Regions from separate parts of the Homo sapiens genome. Here all the other regions are linked to region 7. Evidence: promoter capture Hi-C in human tissues and cell types (Jung and others, 2019). All regions are on one chromosome and are shown on one strand. The core of a region is centred on a gene start or on the middle of the fragment in contact, and the rest is flanking DNA. Distances in the headings are between cores, read along the strand shown. Region 1 overlaps SMILR (smooth muscle induced lncRNA, enhancer of proliferation). Region 2 overlaps SMILR (smooth muscle induced lncRNA, enhancer of proliferation). Region 3 overlaps SMILR (smooth muscle induced lncRNA, enhancer of proliferation). Region 4 has its middle 180 kb from the start of SNTB1. Region 5 overlaps LOC105375733 (a long non-coding RNA gene). Region 6 overlaps SMILR (smooth muscle induced lncRNA, enhancer of proliferation). Region 7 holds the start of HAS2 (hyaluronan synthase 2).

The links. Contacts are between HindIII fragments. The study calls those that stand out against the background at their distance.
Region 1: a contact is called between a fragment that was not itself captured here and the fragment with the promoter of HAS2 in region 7, in 3 of the 25 tissues and cell types used here (dorsolateral prefrontal cortex, mesenchymal stem cells and mesendoderm cells).
Region 2: a contact is called between a fragment that was not itself captured here and the fragment with the promoter of HAS2 in region 7, in 3 of the 25 tissues and cell types used here (aorta, dorsolateral prefrontal cortex and spleen).
Region 3: a contact is called between a fragment that was not itself captured here and the fragment with the promoter of HAS2 in region 7, in 1 of the 25 tissues and cell types used here (dorsolateral prefrontal cortex).
Region 4: a fragment that was not itself captured here is called in contact with the fragment with the promoter of HAS2 in region 7 in 2 of the 25 tissues and cell types used here (mesenchymal stem cells and spleen).
Region 5: a contact is called between a fragment that was not itself captured here and the fragment with the promoter of HAS2 in region 7, in 1 of the 25 tissues and cell types used here (lymphoblastoid cells).
Region 6: a contact is called between a fragment that was not itself captured here and the fragment with the promoter of HAS2 in region 7, in 2 of the 25 tissues and cell types used here (IMR-90 fibroblasts and stomach).

What each region holds. Positions count from the first base shown.
Region 1 is chr8:122,456,842-122,460,169 of GRCh38, forward strand. The region is part of intron 2 of SMILR (smooth muscle induced lncRNA, enhancer of proliferation); the gene reads right to left. Among named protein-coding and RNA genes, the nearest start is that of SMILR, 110 kb to the right of the region's middle. The HindIII fragment of the contact is 5,362 bases long and covers 1-3,328 here.
Region 2 is chr8:122,475,421-122,478,835 of GRCh38, forward strand. The region is part of intron 2 of SMILR (smooth muscle induced lncRNA, enhancer of proliferation); the gene reads right to left. Among named protein-coding and RNA genes, the nearest start is that of SMILR, 92 kb to the right of the region's middle. The HindIII fragment of the contact is 4,576 bases long and covers 1-3,415 here.
Region 3 is chr8:122,552,664-122,556,082 of GRCh38, forward strand. All of the region lies in intron 2 of SMILR (smooth muscle induced lncRNA, enhancer of proliferation), which reads right to left. Among named protein-coding and RNA genes, the nearest start is that of SMILR, 14 kb to the right of the region's middle. The HindIII fragment of the contact is 4,063 bases long and covers 1-3,419 here.
Region 4 is chr8:120,994,121-120,997,771 of GRCh38, forward strand. No RefSeq gene overlaps it. Among named protein-coding and RNA genes, the nearest start is that of SNTB1, 180 kb to the left of the region's middle. The HindIII fragment of the contact is 4,581 bases long and covers 9-3,651 here.
Region 5 is chr8:122,340,783-122,344,361 of GRCh38, forward strand. All of the region lies in intron 1 of LOC105375733 (a long non-coding RNA gene), which reads right to left. Among named protein-coding and RNA genes, the nearest start is that of SMILR, 230 kb to the right of the region's middle. The HindIII fragment of the contact is 6,009 bases long and covers 1-3,579 here.
Region 6 is chr8:122,435,794-122,439,157 of GRCh38, forward strand. All of the region lies in intron 2 of SMILR (smooth muscle induced lncRNA, enhancer of proliferation), which reads right to left. Among named protein-coding and RNA genes, the nearest start is that of SMILR, 130 kb to the right of the region's middle. The HindIII fragment of the contact is 9,762 bases long and covers 1-3,364 here.
Region 7 is chr8:121,639,501-121,642,787 of GRCh38, forward strand. It overlaps HAS2 (hyaluronan synthase 2), which reads right to left and starts at 1,940. Exons shown (of 4, transcript NM_005328.3): 1 at 1,353-1,940. It also overlaps HAS2-AS1. RefSeq lists enhancers at 1-397, 2,599-3,222. The HindIII fragment of the contact is 13,134 bases long and covers 1-3,287 here.

The DNA of each region.
Region 1 (3,328 bases), core at 752-3,251, 820 kb after region 7:
AATTACCTTAGATAAATCACCAAGAGCCAACTGAAGTTTTTTTTTAAATGCTAAGTCTTTATTATAAAAATGTCTGCTACATTTAAAATAAATAAACACAACATACACATTAAAGCCAGAATATTAAACAGAATCTTTTTATTTTACTTTGGACAGCACAAAGTTTTCTAAACTGTTATATGTTGAACATATCAGCAGTTGTTTTTGGTAACTTCTGAAGTGAACCAAGAAAAGTCAATTTTAAAAATATAAATATTTTGACAAGCTACCACTAGTGTTCTTTTTTTTATTTTATTATTATTATACTTTAAGTTTTAGGCATGTGCACAATGTGCCGGTTAGTTACATATGTATACATGTGCCATGCTGGTGTGCTGCACCCATTAACTCGTCATTTAGCATTAGGTATATCTCCTAATGCTATCCCTCCCCCCTCCCCCCACCCCACAACAGTCCCCAGAGTGTGATGTTCCCCTTCCTGTGTCCATGTGTTCTCACTGTTCAATTCCCATCTATGAGTGAGAACATGCGGTGTTTGGTTTTTTGTCCTTGCGATAGTTTACTGAGAATGATGATTTCCAACTTCATCCATGTCCCTACAAAGAAATTATGGCTCTAACTTGATCGAGCTCCAAAGGGGCTTCAGTTAAAGTTAATCTCTCTTTGCAGGATTTAAAAATTAATGTTCACCAGACTTCTTGCCAACTCCACAGGAAGGAGTAACTTAAAGTCCAAAAATATTCTTAACATTAGATTCAAGTTACATGTCAATCTGAATGGAGTGAATATAATAAACCAGCAAAATTGAACCTGAATTGCCTAAGAGAATCTGTAGATTCACTAAGGAATTCTACTCCACATTGTCATCATAATTGAGATTTAGAGATTCCTATTAAGGGCAAAACAAGACAAGATTTCAGAATCATGACACTGAAAAGTGCTTCTATTGATCAAGAATGGGATTGAAGATTACTAAAATTGAAATAATATCAAATGGTTATGAACTTCTGAATCTACCCAACTAAACCCTCCTACTCTCTTAAAGAAAATAGTGGATGGCTACATATTTGGATGGTGATTAACCTTTTATTTCTTCCTTCTTTCAAATTATATCCTAAAATACTTCTGCTACTTCTACAATATTTTTTTGCTTGTGATACTAAAAGTTCCTATTTCAGTTTCTTCTTCAAATTACAAACCTCCTCATTCTGCTTTAGTCATCCAGAAAAAAGTATTGATGTATTGGGCACTCACTCTATGCCAGACTTTTCTCTTTTTTCTTTTTTTGCTAGATTCAATATATTTCAAAAGACAACCTATTTCTGCTGCCAGTGTTTATTGGTATATTGTAAAGAAAACATGCATTTACACAAATACACTCTCACACATATACAGTAATATGTGACAAATGCTAACTTGTATTCCTCATAGAGGTTTTCTCTGACCTTTTTATAAGGCAACCACCACCCCTCTGCCCTTCTTGAAAAACACCATTAGCCACACTTCTACGAGATTAATACTAATCAGACCTGTAGCCATTTTTAGGGCTTAAAGTTTACATCAACCCCAGGGAGGACACAGTGGAAACAGTGGGTGGAGGGGAGTGATATAAAAGAAATCAAGGCATCACCGAGACCAACATCAAGAATTTTATTTTTATTTTTATTGAGGATGGGGGAAAACTGGAGATAGGTTGATAAATCTGTTTCATGTGGCTTTACCTTCCAAACTTCAGAGACTGAGATTTGTATTCAAACAAGCCTCAGTTCAAATTCTGTCCTTATGAGTACTACAATCTTTAAAAAAAATTTTATTCTCTTAAGCTTCAATTTTTCTCACTTGTCAAGCTGAGATAATAGTACTTGCCACGCAATGCCAAAACCCCCAAAATTGAGATAATACATGTAACAGACTTAGTGAGATTCCTGGCATGTAATAACTATGTTGGAAATGGTAGATAACGGTTATGATTATTCATGGCGGTTACCAAGTATTTATTCATCCATTCAACAAAGAATAATTAAGCTTATACTAATGTATTTTCTCAATTCTGAGACCAATCTTTTTTCACATTTCAGCAATCAAAGCGCATTTAATATACATAATGGCTTTTTTCTTCTGCAAAGATGTCTATTAATTTGCTAATGTATCATAAAGTGACAATGTCCTAGGTCTAGCCACCATGCTAGAAAGTGGAGGGTGACAAAAATAAGTAAGAAAGCCCCTGCCCTTTTTACAGACCGTGATACCCGGCAGAGAAGCCACATGACTTCAGCCTTCAGCTTCAAAATTCTGAGCTACCACTACATACTTCCATATGCTGTCCCAATTGTTCCAAAAACTGGGGGTATCACAGACCGCTTTGAGAATGTCATGAAAGTTGTGGGCTTTCTCTACAGGACAAAAGTACACATACATATGAGTTTTACAGAGAATCTTAGGAGTTTTGTAGACTCTCCAAAGACAATCCATGGTGTTCCCTAAAAGAATTTATAAAATGTATGTAAGAATCCCTGCTTGCCCTCTTAGGAAAATTCCCCAGTTATTCTGCAGGTCACTTCTATGATACTCCAACCCCTGGAGTTTAAGCATAAGTATGCCCTGAAGATGAGGAGTGGAGTGCAAAGCTAAGAATCACTGGCTCAGAGAGTCCTTGACAACAGTTTATGTTGGGCTGGTAGCCAAAAGAATTCAATATAACAAGAGAGAAAAGGGGGTTTACATCAGCCTTAGGAAAAACAATGTACAACTCATTACTTTCTTTATTCATTTAGCACAAGTCAACCAACCACAGTATCAATGTTTGATTTACTCTCCCACTATGATCACCCATCTTCATAGCCTCATGGTCACTGCTCCAAATCTAGACTTGTGGTTTGGCTGCATCTCAAGACTTGAACCATAAATGTCAATATAAATGCACATTTTCTAGAAGGATGACAAAATTCAAAACATTCTATTTTCAGGAAAATAATGTGCAAACATATCATTATAATATCCTTTTATCTACAATTTATAAAACTCTGGTCAAAATGTTTGTCTAAAAAAATTCCTGGCAGGATGCTGATATGAGCCTCCAGGCTCTCTCTTCTTTAACATAGGCAATTCATCAGGCTACACACAAAAGCACCCAAAAGTCTGCAATGGTTCTCTTTAAATAAAGGCTTGAAGCACGCAGGGGCCTTTTGTAGAAAGAGAAATAGAGGAGATCCCCAAGGTCGGGGTGCTGTACACAGAAGAAGGATCTTAAAGCAGGAACAACTCATTTGTGACATGGTCATTGCAAGGTCAGAAACGAATAAAGCCAGAAACCAAACCTGGACTCCAA
Region 2 (3,415 bases), core at 433-2,932, 840 kb after region 7:
CAGCATTTTAAAATGAGAGAATGTCTCTTTTGCTCTGACTTACACTGCTAACTGCATCTCCCTCTCCATCTCAGTAGGACTCAATCATACACAGATGCTCCCCAACTTACAATGGGATTATGTTCTAACAAACCCATCATTAGATGAAAATGTCCTAAGTCAAAAACGCATTTAATACATCTAACCTACTGAACAGAGTAGCTTAGCCTAACCTATCTTAAACATGCTCAGAACACTTACAGTAGCCTACAGTTGGGCAAAATCATCTAACATGAGCCTATTTTATAATAAAGTATAGAATACTTCATGTAATTCACCAAATATTCAAATACAGCTTCTGCTGAATGCATATCACTTTTGCACCATCCTGAAATCCAAAAATCCTAAGTCAAACCATGGTAAGTCAGGAACCATCTGTATTTATGGGAACCTAGTTTGAAAAACTAATGTCAGTGAAAAATATTACAACAGCCCATGAATTTTGCATCCATCCTGAGGAGGAAGGTAAACTGGTCCCCTAGAATAATTTCCCCAATTCTTCCTTATGTGTCTCATCAGATCCTGAAGTATCAGGGGTTCAGGGAGACTCACATCTCAGTTATTCAAACAAGCCCAGGTAAATTTTCCCCAGGCTCAAGCCAAAGCTTGCCTCTTAAAAACTGCTAAAAAAAATCTAAAATTCATTTCTAGGACCAAACACATACAAGGAATTCTGATTTGCATGAGAGAGAGTACAATTCACCCTCAACCAACCCAGCACAGAGATGTCTTTCAACACCAACGCACTTTAACATGTATACCCCACTCACTGTTTAATTCCTGTACCCAGAGTCATACAGTTCTGTCATCATAGAAAACACCTCTGGGCAAACTAATTTTTCTTGAAGCCCAGCAAATAGTAACAACCTCCCACACCCTTTCAAAGACCTGCTCAACAGGCAGGTTTTTGTTGCGTGAAGTGGGAGTAGTGGTTGACTATGCAAGCATCATCAACCTTCACGATGCACAATCTAAGCTTGTGGTGGATCAATGTAGCCCCCAAACACCTCCATAATAGTGATAATTGTAACAGCTCTGTATAATACAACATAGTTTTCAAAATAAATGAGAGATATGCTGAGACAAAATACGAGAATGCTGAGACATGGGTTAGGTTATTTGTCCAAGGCAAGCTGGGATGCAAAGCAAAGTCTGGGTGCTTGCCATTTATTCACTGTTCTCCCCATTCCCCTCCCACCTCCTTCTATCTTCTATTGAAATTACAATTTCAGGCCTGGCCCTGATTTCTACTTTGGGAGGATCCCATGGTTTTGTACTTTTAGCACTAATTTTTCAATGTAGGTTTCCTAATCATTTACCCTGAGTGATTCAAAAGAAACATAAGGTAGATTCTTACCTTTGAAAAGCTTTCCCAAATGTCCATTAATGATAGACTGGATTAAGAAAATGTGGCACATATACATCGTGGAATACCACGCAGCCATAAAAAAGGATGAGTTCATGTCCTTTGTAGGGACATGGATGAAGCTGGAAACCATCATTCTCAGCAAACTATCGCAAGGACAAAAAACCAAACACCGCATGTTCTCACTCATAGGTGGGAATTGAACAATGTGAACACTTGGACACAGGAAGGGGAACATCACACACCAGGGCCTGTCGTGGGGTGGGGGGAGGGGGGAGGGATAGCATTAGGATATATACCTAATGTAAATGATGAGTTAATGGGTGCAGCACACCAACATGGCACATGTATACATATGTAACAAACCTGCACATTGTGTACATGTACCCTAGAACTTAAAGTATAATAAAAAAAAAAAAAGAAAATCTTTCAGTCTAGTTGAGGCTGTGACCAATGTCCAAGAAACAAACTGAGAGTAACGTTTATTGACATCAGTGTGGGCCAGCAGAAATAGGCATTTTAAAAAGGAGAGGTCACTGCCAGAAGGAGACACTTTAAGAAAATAAATCTCTTGTGTTTCTCTTTTTACCTTAGTTTCCAGAAAGCTCAAAACCAGATCTGAAGTTTAATTATCTCAATTTATAATTTCCCTTGAAGTATACATAGCTGTGATATTTTCATGCTCTCACGGCACTAGGGTGTGGCGGGGCAGGGTAATTTGTTATTTCTATTTTATATCTTTGCTGTTATTTTTTCTACTGACATCATAATGAAAATATCTGAGATAAAAGCTAATAATAATATTATAATAATAAACTAAAACTGTTAAGGAATACCCATTATAAATTTATATATACTTATACTAACTTATAAAATTTTTGCAACAACTTGTAAAAGTGAATACACCACAAAGTCTGACAATTAGGCAAAAGCATAGACTAGAAATTAAGTTAAGAAGCAACAGCAAATTATTCCAAGTGCTTGAAGTTAGCTGATTACTATAATCGACCATAATTTTTTTTCTTTAAATTTGATAACAACTGATATGTGGGAAGAAGGAGAAAAATAAACAAATACATTATATTTATTTTCTGATGAAAGACCACATGCCAACGTGACCAGTTCATACTAAGCTCAGCAGAAAAGCTTTGAGCATGTATTGAGTGCCCAGGACATATGCATAAATAAAAAAGGTTAATTTCCATAGTAAAGTGTTTCCCATGCAAATATGGGCAAAAGTTATATTGAGGTAATTCACAGACATACCAAAAGCCGGCTAATATATTAAAATATGATCTGCTTTATTGGTAATCATAGAAATTTAAAATAAAATAATTAGAAATCAATTTTACCTAGTAGATTGACAAGAAATTTAAGGATTGTTAATATGTTAGTAAATGTTGTGAAGAAAGGGTCACTTACTTTCATTGTTAGTAAAAGTATAAACTAATTCAATATTCTGGAAGGTGATTTGACATCCATTAGAATTTACAAGGTGCATCCACTTAGATGAGTAATTCAACTTCAATTCATCTGTGAAATCTCTCCTACCAAAATAATTGCACTTGGGCACAAAGATGTTCATTGCAGTATTGCTTATGATAGCAAAAGTTGGAAAGGATAGAAATCTCCATCAAGTCATTTCATAGTCACACTAGGTAACACAATGCAGCCTTTAAAAGAAAGGGACTTTTAAAATGAGGAACTGAATACTGAGGAATTGAATACTGAGGAACTGAATATTGCATTGTCATGGAAACCTCTCCATGATTTAGTGCTAAATGAAAAGTTAATGAATAGTAGTCATAGTATGATCCCATTTATGTTTTCTGGAGGGCTGAACGAGTGTGTGTACATGTACATATGTAGGCACAGAAATTAATAAAAAATAGGTGTGGATGGATAGGTAATAAAAGATAAAGTCATTATGTCTGGGGAGGGAAATAGGTGAATAGTGATATGAAGTGAGGAGTGGGGCTGAGAGAGGAGTAAGGGGAAGGGTGGACACAA
Region 3 (3,419 bases), core at 141-2,640, 910 kb after region 7:
AAAACATGGTCCCAGATGGCTCTCACATGTCTGGCTTACCAGTTGTCCACTAGGATTGCAAGGGCCACTGAGCCGTATTTCTCACATTGTGCAATAATCTGGTCTGGGCTTACTCACATAGTGGGTGTGGCCGTCAGCAAGAGAGGACAAACTCCAATGTGCAAGCACTTTTCAAGTCTCTACTTGCATGACATTATCTATTTCTCATTGGCCCTAGCAAGTCAAATAGCCAAGTCCAGAGTCAATGTGAGAGAATGCTACCTAAGGGCATGGATGCTGGCAAGTGAGGACAAATTGGGCGCCAATCGCTGCAGGAAAATACCATACAAGACAAGAAGGGAGGTGCTTAGCCCACCCTGGAGAGGACGGGTTGGTCTTCCCAGAGTTAAGCAGAGTCATCCAAGTGTAACACTGAAGAATGGTTAGGAATTAGTCCCATAGGATAGGAGGCCTAATGGATAGGGGTTGTTCCTATCTCCTGTGGATAGGAGAGGAAGGAAAATATTCCCAGGATGAGCATGCTCAGAATGTTGGAAGTGAAGTCAGAAACCCATGTAAGGGAATTAAAGATGTTTGGTATTATTTGGTAGTAGAGTTAAAGTCAGAAGTGATTGGGAATAAAACTGGAAAAATAAAAAGGAACCAGGTTATAAAGAGCCTTGTAAGTCATGTAAAGAAGTTTGAGCTGTATACCGTACGTAACATTATCAAATTTATATTCTAGAACAGTAGTCCCCAACCTTTTTGACACCAGGGACCAGTTTTGTGGAAGACATTTTTTCCTATGGACCAGGGTGGGGGAAGGAGGGGTTGAGGGGGAATGGTTTGGGGATGAAACTGTTCCACCTCAGATCATCAGTCATTAGATTTTCATAAGGAGTGCACAACCTAGATCTCTGGCATGCACAGTTCACAATAGGGCCCGTGCTCTTATGAGAATCTAATGCCACTGCTGATCTGACAGGAGGCAGAGCTCAGACGGTAATGCTTACTTTTACACCACTCACCTCCTGCTGTGCAGCCCAGTCCCTAACAGGCCACGGACTGGTACCAGGGGTTAGGGACCCCTGTTCTAGAAGGATCTCCACTGTTTCAATGTAAGAGGTGGGGACACCTATTAGGAAGTGTCCCAATGCAGTAGAAAGATAATAATGGCCTCACCCGGAATAGTAGCTGTAAAGATGGGGAGAAGTGTCCCTGTTTTAGATATAATCAGAAGTAAAATCAATAGGACCTGATGGAATCACATATGTGGAAAAGTGGAAGCAAAAGATTGATTCAGATTTCTGCTTGGGAAAACTGAAAAATGGCAGTGGCATTTATTGCTAAAGGTAGCATGGGAAACCTTTAGCATATATAGTAGAATATATGGGTGGGAGATGAGTATCATTTTGGATATTTTGAATTGGAATTTCTCATGAGACAACCAATTATTTTGGAAAAAACTTAGGCATATAAGTTTGAATCTTAGCAGAGAAACAAAAGCAGGGTTATGTGAATTGTCAACATACAGCTGGCAACTACAGCCATGAGAGAAGATTAGTTCAACCAAGGTGAGTGTCTACACACAGAAGAGGGCCAAATACAGAGCCTGAAAACATAGCAGTCTTTGAGGTATAAGTTGAGTAAAATGGGCCCGCCAATGATACCGTGCCTTTACCAAAAAGGTGGTAAGAATCCAGAGGTGGCATATAACACAGGTGGCAGAGGAAAAGAACATTTCCAAAGGAAGGTGTGGGCAGCAGCATCTGATAGGGCTAATTAGTCCCATAAGGTTAAGACTCAAAGGAAAACCCCTGGGCTACAGACCTTGGGAAGACCAGCGAGGGTTGACATTTAGGGGTACCGGCAGATTGGAGTGGCTACAGAAGGACCGAGAACTGGGAAAATACAGAAAGCAAGTTAGAGAACTATTTTAACAACTTTGATGATGAAGGGGAAAAGAGAGATGCAGAACAAGTAGAAAAAGGAGTATTAAAAAATTGTTTTTTGTTTGTTTGTTTTTGAGATGGAGTCTCGCTCTATTGCCAGGCTGGAGTGCAGTGGGGCGATCTTAGCTCACTGCAACCTCCACCTCCCAGGTTCAAGCAATTCTCCTGCCTCAGCCTCCCAAGTAGCTGGGACTACAGGTGCCCGCCACCATGCCCGGCTAATTTTTTGTATTTTTAGTACAGATGGGGTTTCACCATGTTAGGCAGGATGGTCTTGATCTCCTGACCTCGTGAGCCACCCGCCTTGGCCTCCCAAAGTGCTGGGATTACAGGTGTGAGCCACCGCACCTGGCCCCAGCTTCTTTAACCTTGCAGTGTGAACTTGGAGAGAATGATGAATTGCCCAAGGAGACCCACCATCCCAGAAAAGAAAACAACCCCCTCCCTCCACTCCCAACACATCTCACCCCCCCATTATCCCTCCTGTTTTTATCACTGGAAGGCAGCCCTACAGAAACCACACAGCAGCATTAAAGGACAGGACAGGAACATTTTGTTGTAAACAGGGTACAGATGCCAAAATGTGCTAAACCCATTTGTATATAATGAATGAAGACCAGGAACAGTCGTCATTATGGCCTCTGAACACAGAAAGCAAAGAAAAGGAAGGAAGAAAGAAAAGGCTCTTCCCAATATGCGTTTGTGTGGTTTGATTGTAATGGTTGTTTCCCATTCCGGTTGTTTATGAATAATAGTGACCTTTGTTTCCTTAAAGATGAGCTGAACAAAATGATGCATCTTGAAATGATCATTCATTCTGCAGGAAGGGAACATAAGTGAAACCTAAAAGCCTGTTCGGCTGCCTTTCTTCCAATCTCCCTTTGTATTTACAGTATTTGCCAAAACATATTTAATCCTACAAAGCCCCAAGATGTATATTTTTTGGCTCATGTATAGACAGCCTTATTCTATTGGAAAAAGATGCTGTATGTCTTCCATTTCCAAAGCAAGCTTCGCAGAATGGTCTGGATGGGGAAGAGCTGGAGAAAAACCACAGAGGAAGGTCTATAGATCTGTACCAGATGGTCAGTCACATAGTGCGTGCGTGTCCTGGGAGAGGGTCACGAGAAGCTGAAAGAAATCCTGAAAAGTGGCAGTGGGCTATATTCGCATGATGGCCATGGGACCTGCTGGAGGAGATCAAGGCTCCAGGAGGGACTCTGTCCTGAGGAGCGATCCAGATCACAGAGATGGTGGTCCCTGCCTTGGGAAGGCCTCTGTACACCTCACATAGACCTGCCAACAACCCAGAGGTTCAGATTCCTTAGGCTGATTAACGCTGTTCAGATTCATCCAAAACAACAAGCAGACATTGTCATGGCTACAATCTCCAAATCCTACCCTGCAGAAAATCACTTTAAGGTCTCTCCAAAAGGCTACTGCAGAGCAGGGCTCTTCTCAAGCCCTACTGAGTCGCTCTAGAGTTTC
Region 4 (3,651 bases), core at 1,049-3,548, 650 kb before region 7:
AAGAACTTTAAAATATTTTTAAAATATAAAAGCTGTCATTTAATATGAACATTGAGAGTATTTTGGCTAGAAAAAATGGTGAAATTTATTATTTTTGAATCAAAAATGTATATAAAATTTAAATTATAAAAACCAAATAATAGAGATTATATCTTAATTTTAATCTTTGTAAAATTATTAGTGTTCTTAATGATAAACACTTAACCCCTGAGAACTTCACTTAATTTTTAATTATTTAATTTAATATATGAATATTTTAAACAAAAAGAATATTTAGAAATTATTCACATGTGAAAATAGAATATCAATTTAGCTGTCTCAAATTATTAAGAGTTGGAAAGCTTTCAAACTCATCCCTAAAGCATCCAAGATATACATCTTGGGCCCAGGCTTCAAGACTTCAAGGGCAGGGAAAAAAAGTTTTTTATTTGTTAAAATTATAACAGTCCATTGAAATATAAATGTACATTCATTATTATAAAATACAACCAGCAAGTATTGGAGAAAAGGGATTAGAAGAAAACATAACACCAAAATACATTTTGTTCATTCAAATCAAACTTTAAAAGAACAAGCTTTTCATGAATACTTTTAAAAGAAAATTCGTAGCTGGGCACAGTGGCTCATGCCTGTAATGCCAGCATTTTGTGAGGCCGAGGCAGGAGGATCCCTTGATGCCAGGAGTTCAAGACCAGCTTGAGCAACATAGTAGACCTTGTCTCTACCAAAAAAAAAAAAAAAAAAAAAAACCACAATAGCGGGGCATGATATAGTCCTAGCTACTGGAGAGGCTGAGATGGGATTATAACTTGAGCCCAGGAGTTCAAGATTACAGTGAACCATGATTGTGCCATTGTACTCCAGCCTGAGCAGAAGAAGAAAATTCCTTATTGTTTTGAGTCTAGGATGCCTTTATTTTGGTTGTGATGAGACGAAAGAAAAGCTTAATAACTTTAACTTTTTGGCAACATATCATTTGCAGCATTTTGTATCACAGAGCCAGTCAAATTGCTCTCCTATGGAAGGCACCAAAAAATAAGCTTTATTTTGTATTGCAAAGTGCAATTCACCAATGACCAAGGCAGCTGACAGGGCTGCAAAATCACTGTTCCTGCGCCATAATGTCAAATCTGTAAAATTTGGCCCCACTTAAATTCTGCCAAAAAGAATAGTCACATACATCCTGCTGTGTGTGTGTGTGTGTGGTTTCTGACAACAAGCATTTATTCTCATGTTACTTGTTTGCAACTGATGTGACCTAGCTTTCACTTCCGGGTTGAAAGAACAACTGGAGTTACTTAACTCCTTCCAGGAGTTATGGAACATGCAAGTTCTTGTTCTTGTCTTCACAGTTCTGGAGGCTAGCAGTTCAAAATCAAGTTGTCAGCAGGGTTGTCCCTCCTGAGGACTTTCCCCTTGGCTTGCTGATGGCCACCTTCTCCCTATCCTCACATAGTCTTTCCTCTATCCAGGCTCATCCCTGATGTCTCTTTGTGTGTCCAGATTTCCTCCTCTCCTAAGGACACTAACCAGATTAGGTGGGGGTACCCTCTAATGGTCTCCATTTAATTTTGTCACTTCTTTAATTGCCCTATCTCAAAATACAGTCACATTCTGATGTACTGGAGGTTAAGGCTTTATCATATAAATTTTGGGAAACACATTCAGCCCACAACACTCTCCCTTGGAGGTGGCAGATGTCATGCCTGCTCAAATGCTTTGGTCAGAGCAAGTCACATGATAATGAATGGGGCTGTATAATCCTCTGAGAGGGGAGGGAGGAAATTCACTTGAGGAATAATAGTGGCTTCTACTCAAGAATAGATTTGTTTATACTTTTGCTACTCCATCTTATGCAATTTAATTAAGCATACAAACCTATCAACACACCTACAAAGTTAACAGCCAAAACACCATAGAATTTTTGTAGTTTCTATATTCACCTTGGGATGTCCAGGGATGGGGACTGCAGAGTGGTTGTAGAGGGTCTCTGACTCCATATTTATACAGGTTTTTTTGTACAGCACTTAAGTAATACATGGTTTAGCACATATATTTGTAATAATAAAATAACTCAAGAATATAGGAAAATACAAGTACACAAAAAATAACATGAGACGTCCTCCGGTGCTTACTACCAGATTAACACTTTGCCGTATTTAATCTAGATATCTCCTGAGCTCCTGTATCTTAACCTATTTCTGTATTTGATTTATCATGTATCTATTCACCTCTCCATGCCTCTTTCCATATATCAATTTACCATTTTTAAAAACACACCCCAGTGTAAGTTTGAGACATCAACACATTAGCACTAAGCACTTCGGCATACAAATCCTGAAATAAATTCAATTTTGGTTTTCATTCTTTATTCTTTTGACATAAGATTTAAATACAGTGAAGTGCACAAATCTTAAGGATGCTATTTGGTGAATTAAGATCAACATATAACATGTAACTGTCCCCCAAAGCCTACCAAGTCATGACCATCATTCCAGAAAGCTCCTTTGTGCCCTTTCACAGCCAAGCCCAACCTTCAGTCACTCAAGAGGCAATCATTTCTGAATTTTTTCATTACAGGTTTTTATTTTGCTGTTTTAGAACTTCATATGAATGGAATAATTTAGTATTTAATCCTGCCTAAGGCTCCTTTCACTCAGCATAACATTTCTTTTTTTTTTTTTTAATACTTTAAGTTTTAGGGTTCATGTGCACAACGTGCAGGTTAGTTACGTACGTATACATGTGCCATGTTGGTGTGCTGCACCCATTAACTCGTTATTTAACATTAGGTATATCTCCTAATGTTAGGAGATAACATTAGGTATATCTCCAGTATGTGATGTTCCCCTTCCTGTGTCCATGTGTTCTCATTGTTCAATTCCCACCTATGAGTGAGAACATGCGGTGTTTGGTTTTTTGTCCTTGTGACAGTTTGCTGAGAATGATGGTTTCCAGCTTCATCCATGTCCCTACAAAGTACATGAACTCATCATTTTTTATGGCTGCATAGTATTCCATGGTGTATATGTGCCACATTTTCTTAATCCAGTCTATCATTATTGGACATTTGGCTTGGTTCCAAGTATTTGCTATTGTGAGTAATGCCACAATAAACACACGTGTGCATGTGTGTTTATAGCAGCATGATTTATAATCCTTTGGGTATATACCCAGTAATGAGATGGCTGGGTCAAATGGTATTTCTAGTTCTAGATCCCTGAGGAATTGCCACACTGACTTCCACAATGGTTGAACTAGTTTACAGTCCCACCAACAGTGTAAAAGTGTTCCTATTTCTCCACATCTTCTCCAGCACCTGTTGTTTCCTGACTTTTTAATGATCTCCATTCTAACTGGTGTGAGATGGTATCTCATTGTGGTTTTGATTTGCATTTCTCTGATGGCCAGTGATGATGAGCATTTTTTCATGTGTCTTTTGGCTGCATAAATGCATAACATTTCTAAGATTTAGCCAATTTATTACATTTAGCTGATACTTCATTTCTTATTGTTGCAGAGTAGCACTTCATTGTTTGAATGTACTACAATTTATTTACCTATTTTCTTATTAATGGACACAGGCTATTTCCATTTCTTGGAAGTTATCGATAAATATGTTACAATTTTGGTAGACATATGCTTTCATTT
Region 5 (3,579 bases), core at 653-3,152, 700 kb after region 7:
TCACTTTTCCACAGAGGATGGTTTGATTAATGGTGTAGGGTGAACATACTCAAATACAGGTAAGCTAGTCACAAAAGATCATATAGGTTCAGCCAAATAAGAAATCAATAGAGCTTCAGTGAAAAATAAATTTAAAAATATGGTTCCCTACTTCAATTTGTATAAACTCTGAATATCTTTTCTTTGAAATATCTGTTGTATAGAATCTGATTGTGCCTGTATATTCTGAGTATGGATCAAGTATTAAAGGAAAAAGAAAAAAAACCTTCCCCAACAAAGTCAATAATAGTATAACAATTCACCATGCATTAATTATGTAAAACAGAGACCACAAATGTTCAACTTACAGGCTTGTTTAATCTACAGACACATTTTAGCAGGAACAATATTATTTTCAAATATCTGATTTTCTAATGTTTAAACATTCATGTAAAAATGCAATTTGGAGTTTTTAAAACAACTTCTCAATGATAATTTATGTATAGTGACAGTCAGCTGCCGCTGAATAGAGGCTGGTCCCAGTAGACAGATTGTGCATACTCCAGTAAAATAATGTACATTATCTGCCAGGCCCTAAAGAACTTGAAATCTCAACCCACTGATGCCAAAAAGTTGACAACTTTTCATTAAATTATACTCTGTTTGAGGAGAAAAGATAAATCCTTAAAACTTTAAGTTGAGATTTTACACCATAAAATAGTTTCTTCCCATCTTTACCCTTGTCATATTAACTCCCTTCTATGTTAGAATACTTCCATAAAGAACAACTGCTTCATAGGCTGGGCACAGTGGCTCACCCCTGTAATCCCAACATTCTGGGAGGATAAGCAGGGAGGATCGATCACTTGAACCCGGGAGTTCAAGACCAACCTGCACAACATAGCGAAAACTCTGTCTCTACAAAAAAATATAAAAATGAGCCAGGCATGGTGCCATGCACCTGTAGTCCCAGCTACTCCAGAGGCTGAGGTGGGAGGATCAACTGAGCCCAGGAGGTCGAGGCTTCAGTGAGCCATGATTGTGCCTCCAGCCTGGGTGACAGACAGAACGAGATCCTGTCTCAAAAAAAAAAAAAAAAAAAAAAAAAAAGAACAACTGCTCTTAAAGCAAGTAGGTCATACCCTGTGGGTTTATGTGAAGAAGCTGAGAACATCTTTAGATACTCAAAGCAACTGAGAAATGGGAAAATGTGAATGCCTGTTCTATTACATATTTGATATTCGCCTCAGGGATTATTGAACAGAGTTCAGTTGGCACTATTGGTTTACACTGATCAAAGTTAGTTAAACTGATTATGAAGCACCTTTTGACCTAATTATAACAGAGCAAATAACTTCCATACAATAAGAGGGTGACTTTGGGTGGTTGTTTGAAAACTTTTCTAACATAGATGAAATCTTTTCTCCTACAGAATCTTACATAATCTAAAATGTAAAGCAGATAAACTCAATGCTGCTGCAGTGAGGAGGGATTTCACATTCTTTTGGAACAAGTGCACAGCACTTAGGACACAAGAAGTAATTTTTTGTGTTTGTTTGTTTAAGAGACTGAGTCTCAGTCTGTCTCCCAGGCTAGAGTGCAGTGGAAAAATCATAGTTAACTGCAGCCTCAAACCTCCTGGGCCCAAGTGATCCTCCCGCCTCAGTCTCCCAAGGAGCTGGGACTACAGGCACACACCACCATGCCCACCTATTTTTTTTTTGTTTTGTTCTAATTTTTTGTAGAGACTGGGTCTCACTATGTTGTTCAAACTGGTCTTGAACTCCTGGCCTCAAGTGATCCTCCCTCCTCCCAAAGTGCTAGGATTACAGGCATGAGCCACCATGCCCAACCCAAGTAAGATTTTGAAAACCATGGAAAAAGATTGTACATTATAGTTGTAAGTTACTTTCAATTCTAAATATCTATAATTCATTGACACTAGGGTAACTCCTGTTTCTCATAAAGTCCTCTTACTAGCCATATGACCTTGGCAGGTAACTTAATGTCTCTGAGTGCTTTTTTCATACAATAGGATAATAAACGTGACTGTAATATACAGAAGAAAAGAGACATATGTGTGTGTTTCTGTGTGCATCTTGGGTCCATTCCTTCTCCATCACCAACATAATAGGTTCAGATAAGGTTGATTCCATCCCCTGATTCCAAAAGTGACACAAGACACAGGCTGAAGCTAGAAAAATCATATCTAGGAGCTGTCAGCAAAGTGCTGCTTTTCCGGGGTTGCTGAATCAATAAAATGTAGATGATCTGAAGCTATTTGCAGGCATATTTACCACTGTGTGAATAAGAACCTACCTGAGAATGATGCCAACAGAAATAAACACAGAAACAAGGAAAAAAGAGGGAAACCTTGCTGACTGTATTGCTTAAGCATCTGGATCCGCCCATGCCCAGAACTATCGCAGATTTTGTTACATTACATGAGTGAATTTATTTTCTTAATTTGGAGAGCTAGTCCATGTTGATTTTTCTTTCATTTGCAATCAAAAAAGGCTAATAACAGGATCTTAACTATTAGGTAGCTCTCTTAAGAGTGAAGCAAGTAATGGAGATGGAAGCAATGTGTATTTTAAGTGCTAGCTTTGTTTTCCTCAGATTAGGTATTTTATGACCCATTATCCTAACTCAAAGCGAATTTGTATCTATTACCATCAAATTTTACAAATATTACTATTTCTGATTCAAGATGAGTAAAACAACTTGTGTCTACTTCTTAGTTATCTGTTTTTGTTCACAGGTCATACTTATTTCATCTTCTACTAAGCCTTTAATGTGTAACTATTTCCAAACAGCAGCAGTTCTCCCAATTATGCTGTGAAAATTCACTACCAATGTTTGCCATCAGCAAGTAAATCACAGATGACAGATCATTGGAATTTTTCAGATTACTTTTGATTTTCTGAATGCCACGGCCCTCTCCATTTCTAGACTGTGAATGGGTTTATGTTAGTATTCTAATGTATTGTAAAACATAGAAATGGACAAGATCAAGAAGAAAAGCTTGGGATGTAGGACTAGAAAAACACTAAGAAAAAGTTTGATTACCTCAAGGGTAGAGAGAGAACAGTGAAGAGTATTTGAAAAGTAGAAACCTAGTGTTATCATAGAAACTATGGGAGAAGACTTGCGAGTATTTCAAAAGTTACATAAAATAGAGAGAGATGAAGATGGGAAAATGTCCACTGAAATGGTGATCTAAGCTAGAGCATTTTCAGTACAGTTACGGAGGTGGAACTAGATTCAATGGAAAAAAGAATGAAGGAGAGAAGGAAGTGGAGGTAGTGATTACTGACTATTTGTTGAACGTCTGCAGATGGGAAAGAAGGCTAAGTTAAAAGGAATTTTTTAAAAAAATTAATGAACTGATGGAAATTGACCCACTACCATATATTAATCTACTTTCTTACACGTCGTGCAATTAAGTTAAAAACTGAAACATCGATACAGCCTCTGGATTGTTCTGATAATTCATGATTTCAAATAGACTATTCTTCTTGAAGATAGAGATAATTCCTTCTAATTATTCGAATTTTCCACATCACATAACTCTGAATGGAGCAGAGTGGCTGGCTATGG
Region 6 (3,364 bases), core at 678-3,177, 800 kb after region 7:
CACCTTTCAGGGAAAACTTACAGCCAACTCTCAATGGCCTTTGCAAAGGAGAATCCACTTTGAACATTCGGTAACTTTGCTATAGTATTTTATCAGTTATGTACAGGAGTGCAAGGGGTGACACAGCTGTCTGAAAGAAGATCCTACGTGAAGCTGGTTACTCCTTTTCATCTAAAGCATTCCCACTCTCCTGTGTAATTTAGACACCAACATTAAAATAGTGTTACGCCCAAAGGCACATTACAAATTACCTAAAAGCACATTGCAACATGCCATTTAAAATTTAAATGAAACACTATAATCTCCAATCAAAGTAGTTTAATATTAGGAATTGTGAAGTTTGGGAGCTGATGCATAATGAAGGAATTGAGGGTCCTTTTACCAGCAGCTGTTCTAGCAAGGCACCCCATGATAAACACCTAAAAATCAGGCATATGAGCTGCCTGCTCAAACTGGGGTAACAGCTGGACAAGCCACCAGGGAAATGGAAAGGCAATAAACCAAATAAGCTTGATTTATTTTTATATCTCCCCAGGGCTCTGTATATTTTAGGGTTCATATTTTGCCTTCCAGGTGCATTTGGCTAACATCTTTGAGTCTAATCTTCGAATCCACTCTGGTCTTACCTTCTTCCTTATTTCCATGCTACCTTTACCTCCAGTCTGTTTAGCATTACCCTCCTGACCTTACGCTGATTGTCTTCGATTAAGCCTAAGGATTTCCTCTTCCTGGACCAAAGTCAGGTTACAGAGCAGGAATAATAAAAGACTGAATGGAACCGTAGTGTCATAGCCAGAACCCCAATGTCAACCTTTTGAAAACAACCTGACTGCAGATACCCCATCCCACTGGGAGATTCAACACAGCGGCATTGCAATCCACCAGTTTCAGAGAATTGGCATCTGTGCCAAGGAATGTTTTTTCTAGGAATCTGGTTTCTCATTAAAAGAATTGGGCGGAGGGAACCAAGAAGAAAAAAATGCTAAGTTAAATCAAAATATGATATGAGTTCTTAAAAAAATCAACTCTGATTAATCATACTACAAGGTGATTTAATATGTTTGGAAGAAATTCAGAGCAAGTGAATTCACCAGCACTTTCAACAAATATGTACTCTAAAAAATAATTAATGCACAGCACATAAGTTAGGAATGTTTAAGAGGCTCCATGATATTCACCTTAATAGGTATAAAATGCACATGTGTACAGAATAAAAGAAATAATTGTAATGAGAGTCACTTATTGTCATTGAAAGTAGAATCTTATCTATATTTTAATACAAAAACAAGCATGGTAAAACATCTGTGCTTTACCAAAGGCAATGAAAGGCTAAGAAGGCAATATTTTAAACAATGCACATTTGGATTTTTTGTATAACACTCTCAACTATCTCATCAGTAAAAATCCTCAGAACATGCCTGGGAAATAGGTAAACAATACAGAATAGTTTCTACTGCAAAATTAAATCCTATCCTTGTAATCATAACTCTCTCCCCTCCCCCACCTCCATAATCAAATAGCCATGGAAAGCCTGAGGATGAGGAGTTGAGAGCAGGAAGGAATGATGGCAGAACAGCAGCAACCTTTAGACCAGTAAATAAGTATGGGTGACTTTCGCTCATCAACATCTTATTTTTTTTTTTTTTTTTGAGACAAAGTCTTGCTCTGTCGCCCAGGCTGGAGTGCAATGGCGCAATCCCGGCTCACTGCAACCTCCACCTTCTGGGTTCAAGTGATTCTCCTGCCTCAGCCTCCCTAGTAGCTGAGATTACAGGTGCACACCACCACACGTGGCTAACTTTTATGTTTTTAGTAGAGACAGGGTTTCACCATAATGGCCAGACTGGTCTCAAACTCCTGATCTCAGGAGATCCGACTGCTTCAGCTTCCCAAAGTGCTGGGAATACAGGCATGAGCCACTACATCTGACCTGCTTATGAACATTTTATATGCAGATCTTTCCCCATTCTTTCATTCATTCCAACACATTAGGCCACCTACCACCTTCATGCCCTTACCCTTTGCTGCTCATCTCAGCATCATCCCAGTCCTAACACCACATATGTAAATAAACTGAAAATGTAACCAATTTCTTTGTTGCCAAATAAGTATATATTTAGCTTCAGCTATGACTTATTCTGCCCATCCTGTACAGTTCCTGTGATAAACCAGGCCTTCCCAAGCAATATGGCCCTAGACTGCAGTACCTCGCCACTACTAATGGTGTCAACACACTCATCTGTGGCATTCCTGCAGGTTGTGTCTGTTTGACTGCTTTGTGCCTACTTACCCGATGCATTGGCCTTCCCTGCTTTGGCCCTACTTTGTCAACCCTCTTTCTTAACTGCTGGACAGGCAGCCTGATTTTGAACGTATTATACTGACTTGGACCCTGGCACCTTTTCAGTAGACAACTTCCAATCTGCGCCTTTACAGGATGAGAGGCAGTCTATCCCCATGCCAGTCCTGCCCTGTGCACTACTATCAAGCAGGCTTTTCCTCACCAAGGCACTGTCCAACAAAGGAAAGAGATTGGGTACAAATGTTGAATCTTACGGCTATAAGAAATACTCTTTGCAATGGACTGAACTTTTCAGTTTCCGATAAAGCTGCTTGGTATCATATAGTTCATACCTAACCACTAGTCTAGAGTCAGGAAAACATATCTTTACCAATCCATTTGCCCTTACTTCTGTGGTAGGAATTCTGTATTTGCATTTGTATCCTCTTCCACTTTCTCCTGGCTTCTAGCCCACACATTCAGATGGTTTAATTGCAATATTGGTAGAGTTTGTTTAAATTTTACTCAAGAGTTGAAACATGTGCACTTGTCTAACTTCACGTGAAAGCAGAAATATGAACAAATATTAAAATTGATTTGCAGCCTAACAGAGCCAACCTGTCTCAATAAGTAGATTATTTTAAAACTTTCCAATGTTCAGTTTAAAAGACCCTTGTATTTTGAAGCCTTTTTAATCTTTCCATTTTGAATTCTTTCTTCATCTTTTTGTTTACCTCAAAGAGTCCAGGAGGTCAATTCATTTGGATGGATGGATAATGAAATTAATAGACAATTGCTAAAAACAAACTCTCAGGTACCTCTGCACAATTTCTTCATTATCACTAGGGTAACATGAAAACATGTACAGTGTACTCTATAATGTACAGCTTTGCCTTGTCAGGATAACTATACACCTTTACTCCACCATCTAGATGGTATAGTGTGAGCTTCCATAGTTAAAGGGTGGATGCCTAGCCACCTTGGGGGCAAGTCATAATTACCTGCCTCACCACTTCCATTCCCTCAATCACAGTTCACTGGTCAATGGGTGGACACCAATCCCAAGTTAGACCAATAATCTCA
Region 7 (3,287 bases), core at 690-3,189:
GCGCGGACGTTTGGGGGACGGAGGGAGAGGCGCTAGGGGAACTGGCACCTAAGACTGTGTAATAGGACACAGGTCTTGCAAGTCCTCCTCCCCAGGCACCGCCCCTGTGCTCCCAGCGCCTCTTTGCAGCTTTAATTATCCTTTCAGCGCCGTTCCCCCGCGGCTGCGTTTCCGTGGTCAGAGGAAAAAGGCTCTTTCGCCTCCCGGTTCTCACCCTCATACAGACCCTCCTTTCAGACCCGCCCTCCTGTTCACAGGGACCCATTTCGGAGCCCTGGCTCACGCTGGGCGGGAACTGCCGTGACGAATTCCCCCCAAGGTGTTGATTATCCATCCCAACCCAGCCTCTGGCTTCCCTCCCACCTCCACCCCAGCTCCCACAGGCCCCTCGCCCCGTTCATCGGCTGGGCGCTCGAGACGGCGCCCCCAGATCTCCCACCGGGCAGTGTCCCCAGCTGCAGCTGAGGAGAGAAGCGCCGGCGTGCGCGGTGCCACGTCGGAATTGGCTCTGGGGACGCCGCAGCTGCCGAAGCGCAGCGCGCGGTCCCCACGCACGCCCTGCCTCCGGGCGGCCGGCGGGCTGGCCCGGCGAGGAGAGGAGGGATGCGCGCCCTCCTCCCGCTCCTATCTGCGGGTGCCACCGCCTGCGTCAGGGACCCCTGGCCCGAGTAAGCCCAGACTGACGAGCCTGACACTTTAATGGGGTGCGGGAAGTGCAAAGGAGGGGAGGCCCGGGAAAGGGGGGAGTGGCCGAGAGGGGATGGTAGCTGCGAGGAGGTAGAGAAGGACCCTCCTTCTCCAGGGTCCCAGCTTGTCGGAGCTGGAAGCCCAGATTGCTTAACCCTTTGCATTCCCAGCAAGAAGCGACTTTTTCACTTAGAAGTAAAACGCGCTGGGCTATTCCAGTTTTTCTCCCCACAGTGTGTGTGTGTGTGTGTGTGTGTGGGAAAAAAAGAAGGGAAGGGGTGGGGCGGCTGTGCAGAATGCATTTTCCTTACATTGGGAATTCTTGTTTCCTAACTCTGGAGCCCCTCTGCTGCTCCGGAAGATGCAAAATGGAAAAGTACATCTGAGGACGTGCAGCCTTTCCCAGGCAGAGAGGCTACCTGTGTCCCCAGAAAGGCAGCGGATTTCTGGCGAGAGCCGCAGAAATGGGAAAAGAGGGCTATGTTGCTAAGCCTGACAGTGACCTGAAATATTCCCTGATCTTCAGTCTGTTGGAAATTTTTAAACTTCCAACTTTTCTATCGAAACTGGCTTAAAAATTTTAAAACAATTATAAGGATGTCTTCCTTCTCCCTGGCCTGTTGGAGGACCTTCATCCTTCACCAAAACGCGCCAGTGTAACGTACCTTGTTCAGCTCTTGGTCATAAAGTCGTCCTCAGCCTGTCTGTGTGGTCCCGGAGGGTCGGTGGCGGGCAGTTTCCAAAATTGAGGTAATAAGAGATCAGATGAATTTGAGACGACCGGCCAAAAAAAATAAGAAATTTAAAAACAACATTTAAAAAGGATAGGGGAGTCTTAAATGTTTGATTCTTCCCCACTTTAAAAAATAATTTCACTAATATTCTCTTTATGTTTCCGTTGCACTTCAGTCTAATTCTTAAAAAAATTATGCTTTAAAAATAAATTAACTTTTCTTTTTTCTTTTCTTTTCTTTTTTTTTTTTTTTTTTTTTTGGGCTTCAGTCTTTCTGCCCCCGATAACAGAAAATCTCTTTTTCGTCTTAAAAAAAAAAAAAAAAAAAAAAAAAGCCTGTGGAAGACTCAGCAGAACCCAGGAAGCGCAGAATTGGGAGAAAAGTCTTTGGCTGGGGCTGTTTCAAGTCTCTGGTTCAATGGGCTGCTCGAAGCCAGGACTGGGTAATTCTTTCCAGACGTCTTGACTTCTCCTTCCCCGCCGTTGTTGCCCTTCTGCCTCCTCCAACTTAAGGGGGTCTTAACAAGTGAGCTGGTGGGTGTTTTAATAGGGCGGCGGAGGGAGTGGGGGGGTGAGGGAAGTGGAGAGGGAGGTGTGGACTGGGGAACCCTGAGGGGAGGGAACTGGGAGCGCGGGCGGGCGGGCGAGCGGGAGGCGGGGAGGGGGAGAGGGAGAGAGAGAAATTGGCCATTCAAAGCCTTCTCTGAGCTACAGGCCGGTTCTAAACTCCAATGAATTCAATTAACTTGATTGCTAACGTGTGCAGAGAAATGCAAGACACATAGGGGGCCACCACCTGATTCCTTACTTTCCTCTGGCGGCGGAGGTGGGAGCCCTCGCCTCTTGGATTTCCCTGAACTCCCGCGTTACAAGTTCCCTCCAAGCGATAAACTCCCTGTGGCGCTGAAGTAATTTGTTTTAAAGCCAAATGGTGCCCTTCAGCTAAGTAACCGACCCAAGGAGGAACAGTTGGGAGGGGTGTGTGCACGTGTGTGTGTGTGTGTGTAAGTGTGTGCGTGTGTGTGTGTACCTGGAGCCTTCGACAGCCGGCTGGGACTCTAAAAAGATCGCGCTGGTCCACCACTTGTTAACCCTTTCTTCCCGCCAACTCAAAAGTTTCTGAGCTGACGTCAAGTGTCAAAGCCTTTCTCATAAAGAGGTTTCTGCCGTGGGTGGGCGGAAAACATAGAAAAGTAATTATATGTATATTTTTGCTCAATCTGGTCCCCTAACGTAAACATACTCAAACAGCGCGCATTAAAAATAAAATAATAAAAATTGTTTTCTGGAGGACTTATATTTAGCCATCTTGAAGGAAATGGCTTAACTGGCTTTTGCTTTTTGCAAGCCTTCTGCAAAGTTGACGAGGACAAATATGTCTTGCTTGGAGATGGCCTTTCCTCGTCGTTTTCACAATGCCCCAAGGCTGGGTAGAGTTCGTTTTTTGGTTACTCCTCCCCCCACCACTCCGCCTCCTTTCTTTCTCTTGGACCTTGCCAACAAGCCTGCTGATGACTGAAAATGGACAGTAGGTGGCACTGTTGAGGAAAAAATGAGAGTGACTTTACAAATTAACCAACTTGGTCTTGGGAGATTGCGCTGAAATTGTTATAGGGTAAAACAGATTTTTCTTTCTTTCTTTTTTCCTTCTTCCCCTTCCAAGGATCTTCTGAGGGGTGGACTTCTTTGGAACTCGACAGGACCTTGAAGACTGGGTTCTTAGTCCTTATCACATATATGGGCTATAATGAATAAGTCTAAACAGAAAAGTCGAATAAACTGGAAATGATGCTTTCATCACGTCGCACAAGGTGTAGTGTTGGGGGATGTGATTAGGGGTCAAGCATTTTAGTGCAATACCAGGTAG